2 separate regions of the Homo sapiens genome follow, and region 1 is linked to region 2. The links are contacts of gene promoters, found by promoter capture Hi-C in human tissues and cell types (Jung and others, 2019). All regions are on one chromosome and are shown on one strand. Each heading gives the region's core, a stretch centred on a gene start or on the middle of the fragment in contact. The rest is flanking DNA. Distances are from core to core; before and after follow the strand shown. Region 1 holds the start of LOC124902457 (a long non-coding RNA gene). Region 2 holds the start of VCL (vinculin).

What was found. The method cuts DNA at HindIII sites, captures the fragments that hold promoters and counts their contacts. A contact is called where the count stands out against the background at its distance.
Region 1: a contact is called between a fragment that was not itself captured here and the fragment with the promoter of VCL in region 2, in 1 of the 25 tissues and cell types used here (stomach).

Annotation. Positions count from the first base shown.
Region 1 is chr10:74,587,197-74,593,564 of GRCh38, forward strand. It overlaps ADK (adenosine kinase), which reads left to right. Exons shown (of 11, transcript NM_006721.4): 8 at 2,086-2,121. It overlaps LOC124902457 (a long non-coding RNA gene), which reads left to right and starts at 2,128. Exons shown (of 2, transcript XR_007062199.1): 1 at 2,128-4,607; 2 at 5,475-6,368. The HindIII fragment of the contact is 8,050 bases long and covers 1-5,581 here.
Region 2 is chr10:73,996,238-74,002,229 of GRCh38, forward strand. VCL (vinculin) reads left to right here and starts at 1,879. Exons shown (of 22, transcript NM_014000.3): 1 at 1,879-2,138. The coding sequence starts at 1,971. RefSeq lists silencers at 1,488-1,847, 2,178-2,227 and enhancers at 1,908-2,107, 2,180-2,831. The HindIII fragment of the contact is 15,261 bases long and covers 1-5,992 here.

The sequences.
Region 1 (6,368 bases), core at 307-2,806, 590 kb after region 2:
ATCAATAGCTTTTGAACCTTTTCCTATTCCTTGATATCACCGCCAGCAAATGTTACTGACTATGTGATGTACAAAGTTCTAACCTTGCTTGCACAAATTGACCAGTTGTCAAGATCAATATTTATTTGCTTATTTTTGTCTACATGAACTAAGGGTAACTTGGTCAGGCTTATGTTTCTCTAGTAAATAGCGTAAGGAGTTGTACTTTCAACTTAACACTTCCTGTTGACTTCAGTGTTTAGCTGTAATCATACATTTTGACCTTTCTAAATCCTCAAAATGGTTCTCTAACCTATATGTTATTAGTACATTGGACCATAGGTGCATACATGTATTTTTTTCCCAATGTTTTCCCAAATTTCTGCTGAAGACACTGACTGTACTTTCTGCCTTACATGGCTTGATGCTACAGTCGTTTTAGTTGAGTTGGATCTGCTCACTACTCAGGCTCAAATCCCATCCTTCTATTAATATCTCTTGGCAAAGATAATTTTGGAAGAATGTGAGTTAAGATGTAGAGACTCTTGACAGTTGTCTGCAGTTTTTTTTTTTTTTCATTTTCAAGAGGGAAGTAGAGTTGAAAAGTAATATTGCCTCCCTTTTCTATCTGTCCTAAAATTAAAGTATAAGCACAAAGAGTGAAGAAAGGGAAAGGATTTGATTACACATATGTATTTTTGTCATTTAGTAACCTGTTATAAGAGCCTTAGGGTATATAATAATCATTAGATTGTGTCCTTAAGATATTTAAAATCTAGAAGAACTTTGCATATTAAAATTTTTTAACCATACATATTTTTAATGCTCAACTGTTTTTACCCTGTCATCTTATATTAAAGAGGATTTTTGGACTGTTTATTATAAAAAATTTCAAACAAAAAAGGAGACATTGGACCCCTACATAGCACATACATCTAGATTTAACACTTGTTAACATTTTGCCACTTTTGCTTCATTTTAATTTTTTTCTGCAGTATTCTAAAATAAATTACATATATCATGACATTTCATTTCTAAATACCTCAGGATTCATCTTAAGAATTAAGGACTTTTAAAATCAAACTGATAATTCCTAATATTACCTAATTTTCATTTCAGATTCAAATTTCTCCCCTTGTCCCAAAAATGTCTTTTATAGCTGGTTTGTATAAACCAATTAAGGTTTATACATTGTTCTTGGTCATTTTCCCTTTTCTACTTTACATTACATTGACTTGTTAAAAACATTAAGCTAGTTGTCCTACAGAATGTCCTACCCTATGAATGTTTTCAGTTGCTTTCTCTGTGTATACTTTAACTTGTTCCCCTATCCTCTGTATTTCTTATAGACTGCAAGTTACTGGACTAAAGTTTTGATTAATTCATATTAAAGTATTTAGGTTAGAATACTTTATAGGTGATGGTGTGAACTTCACACTGCATCACAACAGAAGGCAAAGAATATTTGGTGATCCCACTATTAGTGATGATAAGTGATAGCATCGATCACTGGGTTAAAGTGATGACAGCTTGATCCTTCCATTATAAAGTTATGCTTTGCTCCCGTGACCAGCATATAATCTGAGATACTTTGATTCCATGGAAATACCCAGTTCCCTATCATCCTTTTTACCCAATGAGTTTAACATCTACTGAGGATCCTTGCCTGCATAAATTTCGTTATGAGGATTGCAAAAAGATGATTTTTCTGAATTTATACATTTATTAGCAGGCATTCTTCTCTACATAAGAGCTTTTTGAGAGGTATTGTTTTAATTAAAAACACAACCACCAGCATATTCCTTGGATTGTCTTTCTTTGCTGAGGTCAGAACACCTGAACTCACTGTGGCAGCTACAGTAAAAACATGTACTACATCTTCTTTATTCCAACTTGTGAAGTGTGTTGACATTAGGCTGCCTTTTTTTATTATTATTATTCCAAGGGAAAAAAGAAATCTTTATTGCTGTAAGAATAAAAATTGAACTATGTGGGTATATTGAGATAATTGTGTAAAGAAGAAGACTGAATGAGTTTCAAAAAATGGATTATTTCTTCATTACCGAGCACTTTATAATTAACTGTTCTTTTTTTTTTTTATTTCAGGAAGCTGCCACTTTTGCTAGAGAGCAAGGCTTTGAGGTGAGTTAACCCACAATTGCACACTAAACAGATCCTAAAGGTTTTTTCTAGCTGATAATGAAGTTCTTTTGGACAGTGATTGATGTGCTATTATACTCTCAGAGCCTCGCAGCAGTTGCCATGGAAACTTGGCAGTCGTCATGGTTTCTTTGTTCTGCCAGCACAGTGTTATGACGCACTCTGCTAGGTCTGCACCCAACATCGCCTACAGATGTTATTTATTGAATTTTGAAAAGCCTCTTGGGAAGCCAAGAGGTTGGGCACGGTTTCAAGCTGCCTCTGCAGATATGGGGCCTGTCAGTTTGTTCAGTTAAAAAGCTACCTCATTAGCTGCATTACATTTCATAAGGATTCACTGCTAAAGCAGTGGTGGAACAAGACTAAATAATGAAATATAATGTCGTTTAAATAATTTCAGCCCTATCACATGTAGATTATCATTATGCAAATTAATTTCTAAAAGGTTGTACTTAACAGTTGTTAGGAACTGATTAATTTAAATCCTGCTTTTATAAACTTACTCTTTGAACCTATCTTTTCTTCTCTCTCCCTCTTTTTTTCTGGGGAGACGGAGGTAGCATAAAATATACATACATTTTCTGAAATAAAATATCAATAATTGGATTTAATTTCTAGGTCCTAATTCTGTTTTTCTGATATAAGTGTTATCCTGTCAAGATTCAAAACTCCATGTGGTTGTTGTTGGCAAAACTGAGATAACCGTGTTTTTTATCTGTATAATACCCCTCTTCCAACTGATTGTTAGAAAACACTGACTAATATGAACCCAGGTTAACTGACAGAGAATTAACTAAGTTGGAGTTGTTTATGACTATGATATTTATTGAGTGAACTATGTAGAATGCTGTGTTCTTACAGCAACTTAAAGTGTTACAGGGTAGTAATTTTTAAAAATTTAATCTAACCACAGCCGAAATGTAGGAACTTTCTTTTTATTTGCATATTCAGTATTGTCTATCAAACAGGGAAGAGGTGAGTGGTGATTGAATAGTATCAGTAAGGACTAGTAAGCTCACTTTGAACTCTAGAGAAAGATATTATATGAGTTTGTGAAACTCTTTTTAAATGTAGTAAAGGCAGATTATCAAGCAGCAAAGTAATACATGTTCATGTTATTCATGTCATCAGACTTGACAAACGAGACATAGAGCTTCCTCTTCATAGAGGAAAGACAAGGAACATGTGATACAGATATTCTGTTCTGAAGATCCTATAAAAGAACTACTCCAGAGTAGGGAAACTTGCTTCTTTGTACTCAATTATTAGGAGCTGTGATAGTTTCTTACAAGTTTGCTTTTTTATGCTTTACCATATTATAGTAAATCTAGGTTTAAGTCACATTTAGAAAAAGGATTTCCAAGTGGTGGGTTTTTTTCTAATTTAAGTTTCACATTTTAATTTCCCAAACTGGCAATTATATGTAGGACAAAATGTAATCATGGGAATATTCAATTAAAAAGTCAAATGTTTTGATCATGAGAATATAAATAAAAATTTTCAGGAATTTTTTAAAGTTTTACTGATTTTAAGTTTTAATATTACAAAAATTATATTATCTGTTGATACATCAGAATTCTCCATAGAAGAAAACTTTCAGAACATACATTTGTATCCTGTCAGTTTACTGTGTTACCATAAAAAATGTATTTTTGGTTCTATAAAATAACCAATTTTGCAGATACTTAGAAATATAATTTGTTATATAACATGATCATGATCCTGTAGTATCTACATAGCAGTTTTTAAAAAATAGTTTATTAAGCCTGATTAATACTTTTATTTCCCCCTTGAGCTACTTGCTTTTCATGTGCCTGGTTTACATTCAGTCATAGCAACAAACTACTTTTTCTATTTTCCATTAACTAGCACTATATTCACCTTTCCATTAGTTCTTACTTACTGATTCTTGAATTGTTTTTGCCATAAATCTGCCATAATTGATTACAGCATATAAGCAAAATGATAATGATTATAATCACATACCTTATTACCTCCTGACATAGCAAAACTGCTCTGTCAGTGATATTGACAGTGATATGTTAGACTAAATAAAGCACATAGTGTCTTGATGTGTCTCTTCGTAGATTCCCAAAACCATCACAAGCATTGCAGAATATATTTGAACCATGAGTAGGGTACCCTCAAATAGATATTTTTAATCAAATGTAATCCATGTATGGAACACTATCTAGAGAAATTCAATGATTTTATAATGTCACTAAAGTTTCCTAGGTCATTAGACAGAAATGGCAGAGCATAGGTTTGAAACTTGGTATTCTTAAGGAATAAAACAAAAATAAATCACTTTATCTTAATAGTTTTCTGTGTGAAAATGCATTAATACTCTTGGCTAGTGTGACAAACTAGACAAAAATCTGCATTTTATCCCTTCTAACTTTAATTTTGACTCTAAATTTGGAGCATGAATGAGAAGAAAGAAGTGAAAAGATTAAAAGAAAGGAAAGGTGAGTATTTTTTCCTTCCATCAGTGCCGCTGTCCTACCCTCATTTTCTCCTATAAATCCCAATCAGTTCCAAAAGCCACTGAGTATTGCCACTAGTGATCTGGCTGCTGACAGACCAATCCAAGCGCCTCTAAAAATAACCAGTGTTTATTCGTCAGGAAATATTCTCAGTGGCATTTTTTTTTTAATTGATTATTATTCTGGTTAGCTTCTCTGCAAATTTTACTTTTGTAAAAAAAAAAATCTTTAAACTGAATTCGGCAGTTTTCAGTGAGAAGCAGCAGCTTAGGAGAGCACTGGAGAATGAGATAAAAACTGGAGCTGGGCAGAACACAAAGCATAAGAGAGGATTTTTTTATATATATAGGTGATGGAAAATTGCATAGTGCCTGATTTAAATGACAGACCTGCTAAGAATTTAAAATGACAATTCTTGGGGTAAAAAGTTTTATAAGGCCTTTTATTATTCTAGAAAATCAGTTCAGACTGGAGTGTGTTTTTAAATCTAGCTTTTCTTGAGCCGAACTGATTAAATGTTCGTATTTTTAGAACATAAATAAAAATAAGGTGCTCAAAAGCATGTTTCATTATAAAGCCTTTTTTAAACTATTGAAAATTGATTTAAATAAAGTGAAGAAAATACCTCAAAACCTAAATATATATATTCTCTATCTTTTCATTGTCTCTGCAACTGAGTAAATGACAAATGATGAAGAGAATTCATACCTTCTCTATTGGATCATTTATTTCCTTTTACTCCAAGTAATAAATTTTAGATTTTTTTTAAATTTTAGATCTCTAAGAATAATACTTCTGCTCATAGGGGAAACAAAGCAATCCTTTTCGCCTTTTTCACTTCCTCCATAGCCCCTGACTACCCAGAAGATCCTAGACTTGTAGTCTTTCTCTGACCAATGAGGATTCTTTCATCTTACACCACTGAAAGAGAAAAGTATGGAATTGTGCTATCCAATACAGCATCTACTAGCCACATGTGGCTATTTAAATTAGGATTAATTAAAATTAAATAAAATTTAAAATTCATCACTTCTTGGCCTTTTGGCTAAGATCAAATGTAAAATTTTAAATTCAGTCCTTCAGTCATACTAGGCACATATTGAGTACTCTATAGACTATGTAGCTAATGACTACTTTATTGGATAATGCAGGATAGAACATATGCATCATCACAGAAAGTTTCATTGATCAGCATGGATAGAAAGTCTACAGAGAATGTATTCAGGCAGTGTTGATTACCAAAGAATTACCTTAGGTGACTTTTAGGTTCCTGTGTTCTTCACAAATATAAATAGTGCAATGAATGATCACTCAGAGTTTCAGAGTTTCTGAAAATAAGACCCTAAATCAGGCCCTGCTGGCTAAGAGAGTGCAGTGTTGTTTTTGTAGGTGCCTGAACCCCAAAAGAGGACAATTTTAGAACAGTTCAGTTAAGGGAAAGCAATAAGCTAGTCTTCTAATTCTCTTCATTTAATCATTTATTTATTCAACAAATATTTACTGAGTTCTTACTATGTACATACCACTTTGATAGACCCCAAGACAAGGTGGAAGTGACCAGAGAGTGTACCATGAAAGAGCATGTGGGAAGGGTTCCCATTTTAGCTATGATGGCTATGGAATGACCCTAAAAATATGAATATCTAGCAATGACAAAAAAAAAGCGACACAAACAGCAAAACAAATTTCAAACAGAGAGAACAGGACTATAAAAGTCTCTGAACGAGAGAGAACTTAATGTAC
Region 2 (5,992 bases), core at 629-3,128:
AATAATTTTTAAAATAAAAAAATCATATCGTTCCATCACTCAACTTTTTTTTTTTTGGACAGGGAGTCTCACTCTGTTGCTCAGGCTAGAGTGCAATGGCACGGTATCAGCTCACTGCAACCTCCACCTCCCAGGTTCAAGCAAGTCTCCTGTCTCAGCCTCCCGATTAGCTGGGATTACAGGCACCTGCCACCACACCTGGCTAATTTTTGTATTTTTAGTTGAGACGGGGTTTCACCAGGTTGGCCAGGCTGGTCTTGAACCCCTGACCTCAGGTGATCTGCCTGCCTCAGCCTCCCAAAATGCTGGGATTACAGGCGTGAGCCACCGTGCCTGGCCCCATCACCCAAATATTTATACTATTAACACAAAGTAATGGGCAGAGAAAACAGCTGTGGTGGTTGTGGTAGGACTAGACAAAAATTTTCATTTGATGTGAGAATCTTTTGCTTGGAGGCATTACTGAAAGTGTTTACCTCAGAATGGGAAAGCTTGGGCAAAAGCGAATTTGAAGTAAGTAAGACGTTTGGAAGATGTCTTTTTTTTTTTTTTTTTTTTTTTGAGACAGAGTCTTGCTCTGTCGCCCAGGATGGAGTGTAGTGGCGCGATCTCCGCTCACTGCAAGCTCCGCCTCCCGGGTTCACGCCATTGTCCTGCCTCAGCCTCATGAGTAACTGGGACTACAGGCGCCCGCCACCACGCCTGGCTATTTTTTTTGTATTTTTAGTAGATACGGGGTTTCACCGTGTTAGACAGGATGGCCTAGATCTCCTGACCTCGTGATCCGCCCGCCTCAGCCTCCCAAAGTGCTGGGATTACAGGCGTGAGCCATCGCGCCCGGCCTGGAAGATGTCTTATACAAAGCGTGAGGGAACTGGATAATTTGGTCTTACCTATCAAAATATAAAATGCATATACTTTTGCGTTTTTCTCTTTCCTGGTAGGCATTTGCGCTAGATAAATACACAGATGCACAGCACAGGGGTAAGTACAATTCATGCAGAATTGTTTTTTAATAGTGAAAACCAGGACCCAACCCAAGTCCATGAGTAGGAAATTGGTTCTGTAAATAGTTTTATTTCATGCAATGGAATATCATGCAGTCATTAAGAAGAATGAGGTAGACCTCTACCAGCAGTGAAAGATAAGGGCATTTTAATCAAGGGCAATCATACCTAGTTCCAGGAAAATGTTTATTAATCTCATTTAGTTAGAAAATATATATGTAGAAGTGAATCTATAGACAAGTCTAGAAGGCTACACACCCAGCTGTTAAACAGAATGTCTTTGAGGAGGGCAGGGGGCGGAGTCTGCGTTTACGTGAATGGGACGCTGCTGTTTCTCAGTGCACCTCTGCTGTTTGAATCTTTTACTAAAAACCTTCCCATGCATTGCTGGGAGGGAATGGAAGGAGTATTTTGAGGGTTTCGTGTGAAGGGAAAAGTTGAGGAGGGGACGTGGGAGACCCCTTGGTCTCATCAAACTCTAGCGCCGCTTGAGGTGAGGAGACCCCGCCCCGCTGAGGTGATTCTGCAGAGGGGCGGAGCCCCCCAGATCCGAGGCGGGAGGCGGCCCGGGGGCGGGACCAGCCGGCTCCAGCGGCCCGCTCCGCTCCCACCATGCCCTTATAAGGAGCGCCCGGCGTTAGGGCTCGGGAATCCGGTAGCAATCCCGGCGGCTCAGCCCCAATCCCAGGCCCCTCCCTTAGGAATGGGGGAGGGGCGGGGTTTGGCGGCGCGGTGGCTGGGGCGGAGCATCTCGAAAAGGGACCAGTAGGAGTGGCGGCCCAGGTCTGAGCTGCGCTGCCATTGGGCGCGGCGACGAGAGGGGGCGGGGAGCCCGTGAGGCTGGTTACGCCGAGGGAAGCCCCGACTCCGTAGTCGCTGCACAGTCTGTCTCTTCGCCGGTTCCCGGCCCCGTGGATCCTACTTCTCTGTCGCCCGCGGTTCGCCGCCCCGCTCGCCGCCGCGATGCCAGTGTTTCATACGCGCACGATCGAGAGCATCCTGGAGCCGGTGGCACAGCAGATCTCCCACCTGGTGATAATGCACGAGGAGGGCGAGGTGGACGGCAAAGCCATTCCTGACCTCACCGCGCCCGTGGCCGCCGTGCAGGCGGCCGTCAGCAACCTCGTCCGGGTGAGCGCGCAGGGCCTGGCGCGGGAGCGGGCGCGGGAGGTATCCCCGGGGCCCCGGCCCGCGTCGCGGCTGCCTGTGGCCGGCTCGCTGGCCGTGGCTTTCCGCGTGGGTTCCGGAGCCAGGCGCCGAGGGTTCGAATGGCCTCTTCTCCGCCCTGTGACCTTGAGCGAGTCCTGAGCCTCTCCGGGCCTCAGTGTCCTCATCTATAAAATGGGAGCAGTCATGAAAAAGGCTGCCTTGCGGGCTTGTCGTGAAGATATGGCGAGGTATTATTCGTGGAGTGCCTCGCGCGGCGTGTGGCCCACAGCAGACACCCAATAAATGAGAGTTGCTGGGATGTCCGAGGGTCCCTGCCCCGCGCAGGCTTCGCCCCCACGTTGACTTCCTCGCTCTCAGCGCCTTTTAGGCCTCCTCGATCTGGCTGTGCGGGGGAGGGAGAGCGGGCCTTCCCACGGATCCCTTGCCTTCTCTTCTAGGGATCCTTATTTGAGCCACGTTGTCCTCCTTTCTAATACTTCTGCCCCTCACCCTGAGACCCGCCTCGCCCACCCCCGCTCCCCAGAGCTCCCTGTATTCCGCCCTTTTATTCACTTGCCTCACTCTCTGTCGCCTCCTCCTCCCTCCTGGGCATTTTACTTATGCTCACTCCTCTGGCACTCTCACACCTTTATGCAGTCATTCGTGACCACAAGCCCGGTTTTTCCTTCCGCTCAGCCCTGCTGCCCTTCCTTTCATTCCCTCCTGTGGACATTTTCACCTGGCGTTACCTGCTGTCAAACGGCCTCCTCCCACTGGGGCCTTTCTAGACTCGGGGGCCCTCCTTGGCCCCTCCTCCTGGCAGGAAGCAAGATGGAGCTGTTGGGAGAGGCCTGTGGAATCTGGGATCTGCCGCCCCTGCCGGAGAGAAGGCTGGGGCATCCGCTCCCCATCCACAACTTTCCTGGTGGCTCTGCAGACCCCTGTAACCCACAGCTGTGACTCATAACCGAGGTGATTCCTGGAGGAGGTGGAGCCCACGTCTGAAATGGGAAAAAAGAGGTGCTGAGACCAGTCTCCCAAGACTCCCCTGGCTAATGTCACACTTTTCTTTCCCACCCTGGGTGGGTGACTCAGACTGGTCCTGCTTGTGAGGAACAATTTTGGAAAAAGTTCATACTGCTCCCCCACTGAGCTGTGTAAATAGTGTGTGTCAGGGCAGTTGGGCGGCAACTGTGGGTCTGTCTGGGTGGGGCTTGGGTTACTTTTCTGATTTGAGCACTTTAGTGCACTTAGAGGCTCTTTAGCAGCTGAAAGTCTTCCTCAGTCTTCAGGGGTCCCTGGACTGTCTCAAGCAATTTAGGAGACTGGTAGCTAGGAAGACAGGGTGACACCACCGACCAAATTCCTGATCTTTCTTCTCTATAGCTTTAGTAAGAATCTATTCATTCAGTAAGAATGCTGTATTCATTCACAATGTCTACTTGTACATTGTTCTTCTTTTTATAACTAATTTGAACAGAACACTCCAGAGTACATTCTTATGTAGTGTTGTCTAACATGGCTGCATTCCAGGCCTCCATTTTTCAACAAATAGGAAACAATGTAAAGAGACAAGGTAATAGTGTCTCTCCATGTAGTACTTCAGGAAATGAAATCTTAAAACCACATGTTGCACTTGGAACAGAGCTAGTGTAGTCTAGGGGTTGATATCTGGTTAGGCTATTTAGAGAAAAGTTATTTATGGGCTTCCATGCCATGAATTAATAAGCATTGAATGTCTGCTATATGGAAAACACTGCAATAAATCAGTGCTTCTCAGCTTAAGAGTGTTCATGAAAATCATCAGTGAGGCTTTTTAGAAATTAAGATGTCCAGCTCCCACGGGTCAAGGCCTTTGTATTTTGCTTTTTTTTTTTTTTTTTTTTGAGACAGGGTCTCGCTCTGTCACGCAGGCGCTGGAGTGCAATGGCGTGATCATAGCTCACTGCAGCCTCCATCTCCTGGACTGAGAAAAATCCTCCCACCTCAGCCTCCCAAGTAGCTGAAGGCCTTTGTTTGTTTGTTTGTTTGTTTGTTTTTGAGATGGAGTCTTCCTCTGTCACGAGGCTGGAGTGCAGTGACACGATCTGGGCCCACTGCAACGTCCTCCTCCCAGGTTCAAGTGATTCTCCTGCCTTAGCCTCCCGAGTAGCTGGGACTACAGGTTCGCACCACCGTGGCCAGCTAATTTTTGTATTTTTAGTAGAGGCGGGGTTTCACCATGTTGGCCAGGATGATCTCCATCTCTTGACCTTGTGATTTGCCCGCCTCGGCCTCCCAAAGTGCTGAGATTACAGGCATGTGCCACTGTGCCCGGCCAGGCCTTCGTATTTTTTAGGAAGCTCCATAGGTGATTGTGATATACGGCCTTAGTTAGGAAACACTGTAATACACACTGTGAGACAAATACAAAAGAAATAAGGTTATAAGATGAAAACAATGATATGTAGTTAAGTTATATACTTTCCAACACATACAAAAGAGGGGACTTGAGATTGGTGGTAGCTATGGGTTAGCAGAGACAAAGTAGGGAGGATTGTGCTGATAAATAGTTAATCATGAACAAAGGTACTTGTGAGTAAGTCACTTCCAGGTTACAGCAAGTAGATTATCTTGATTGCAGCTCAGGAGACAAGTTGGAGAGAAATTGGAGATGAAGTTAGTGCGTGACATATGGGCAGTGTAACATAGGCCTTATCCAAAAGGATGAACAAAGAGAGCAGGAGGGGAAGGAGGATGAGAATAGTGTGTGAGAAAGACTGCGTGAGAATGGCGTGTGAGAATAGTATAGTGTGTTTTGGGGAGGCCAGAGGACCTACCCATTGCTTCACATTCTTGGTGCCAACTGTGACCGTTAAATATGTGGATTCTGTACATGCTTCAAGATTGTTCCTGGAGGTCAAGCCTTGTCTGATATTCCTCTCTTTTTAAAAAATTTTATTTTGGTTTTAAATAGAGACAGGGTCTTGTTATGTTGCCCAGGCTGGTCTCGAATCCCTGGGCTCAAGCAATCCTCCCGCCTTGGCCTCTCAAAGTGCTGGATTACAGTTGTGAGCTACTGTGCCTGGTCTGATATTTCTTTATATGGTCCTCAGTTCCTGCCCTCAAAATTGGCACATAGGATCACTCAATAAATATTGTTGAAGGAACTATGGGAAGGGAGACAAATTGGGAAGCTTTTAAAATTGGTTGGTTATGAAGAAAATGAAGGCCTGGACTTGCGAGTGGCAGGGAAAATGGAGAAGGAATTAATCAGAAATATATTAGAAGAAGAAATAATAGAACTGGATAATTGAACTCTGAATTTGCTAGAAAAGAAACATAGTATTACGGTAAAATAATGAAACTGATTTTAGAACAAATCTTCTGGAATTTATGTAATCTGGGTGAGTATTTCTTGGGAGTTACTTTGGGAGGTTATATCCTTATTCTAGTGCTTTTCTTTGGGAATTTCTTTCAGATTATTTACATACGTATGCCAAATTAGTCTTATTTTGGTCAAGAAAGTGTACATTTTGACTGAAGTAGGCATTCTTGAGCTCAACTACTTCATTTACTGTTCTTGAGCCTAAATGACTTTTGGATATTTCCATAATTAAAATTTACTAGATGAAGATGAAATTTTCAATTGTTGTAATAGTCATTCACTTATCAAGCAGGTGTTTATTGAGACCCCTTCCAATGTCAAAGCAATAAGTGTGATGCCTGTCACAATCAGTATGATACTGAATTGGAAGTCTTTTTTTTCTGAGATGGAGTTACGCTCTTATTGCCCAGGTTGGAGTGCAGTGGCATGATCTTGGCTCACCGCAACCTCTGTCTCCCAGGTTCAAGTG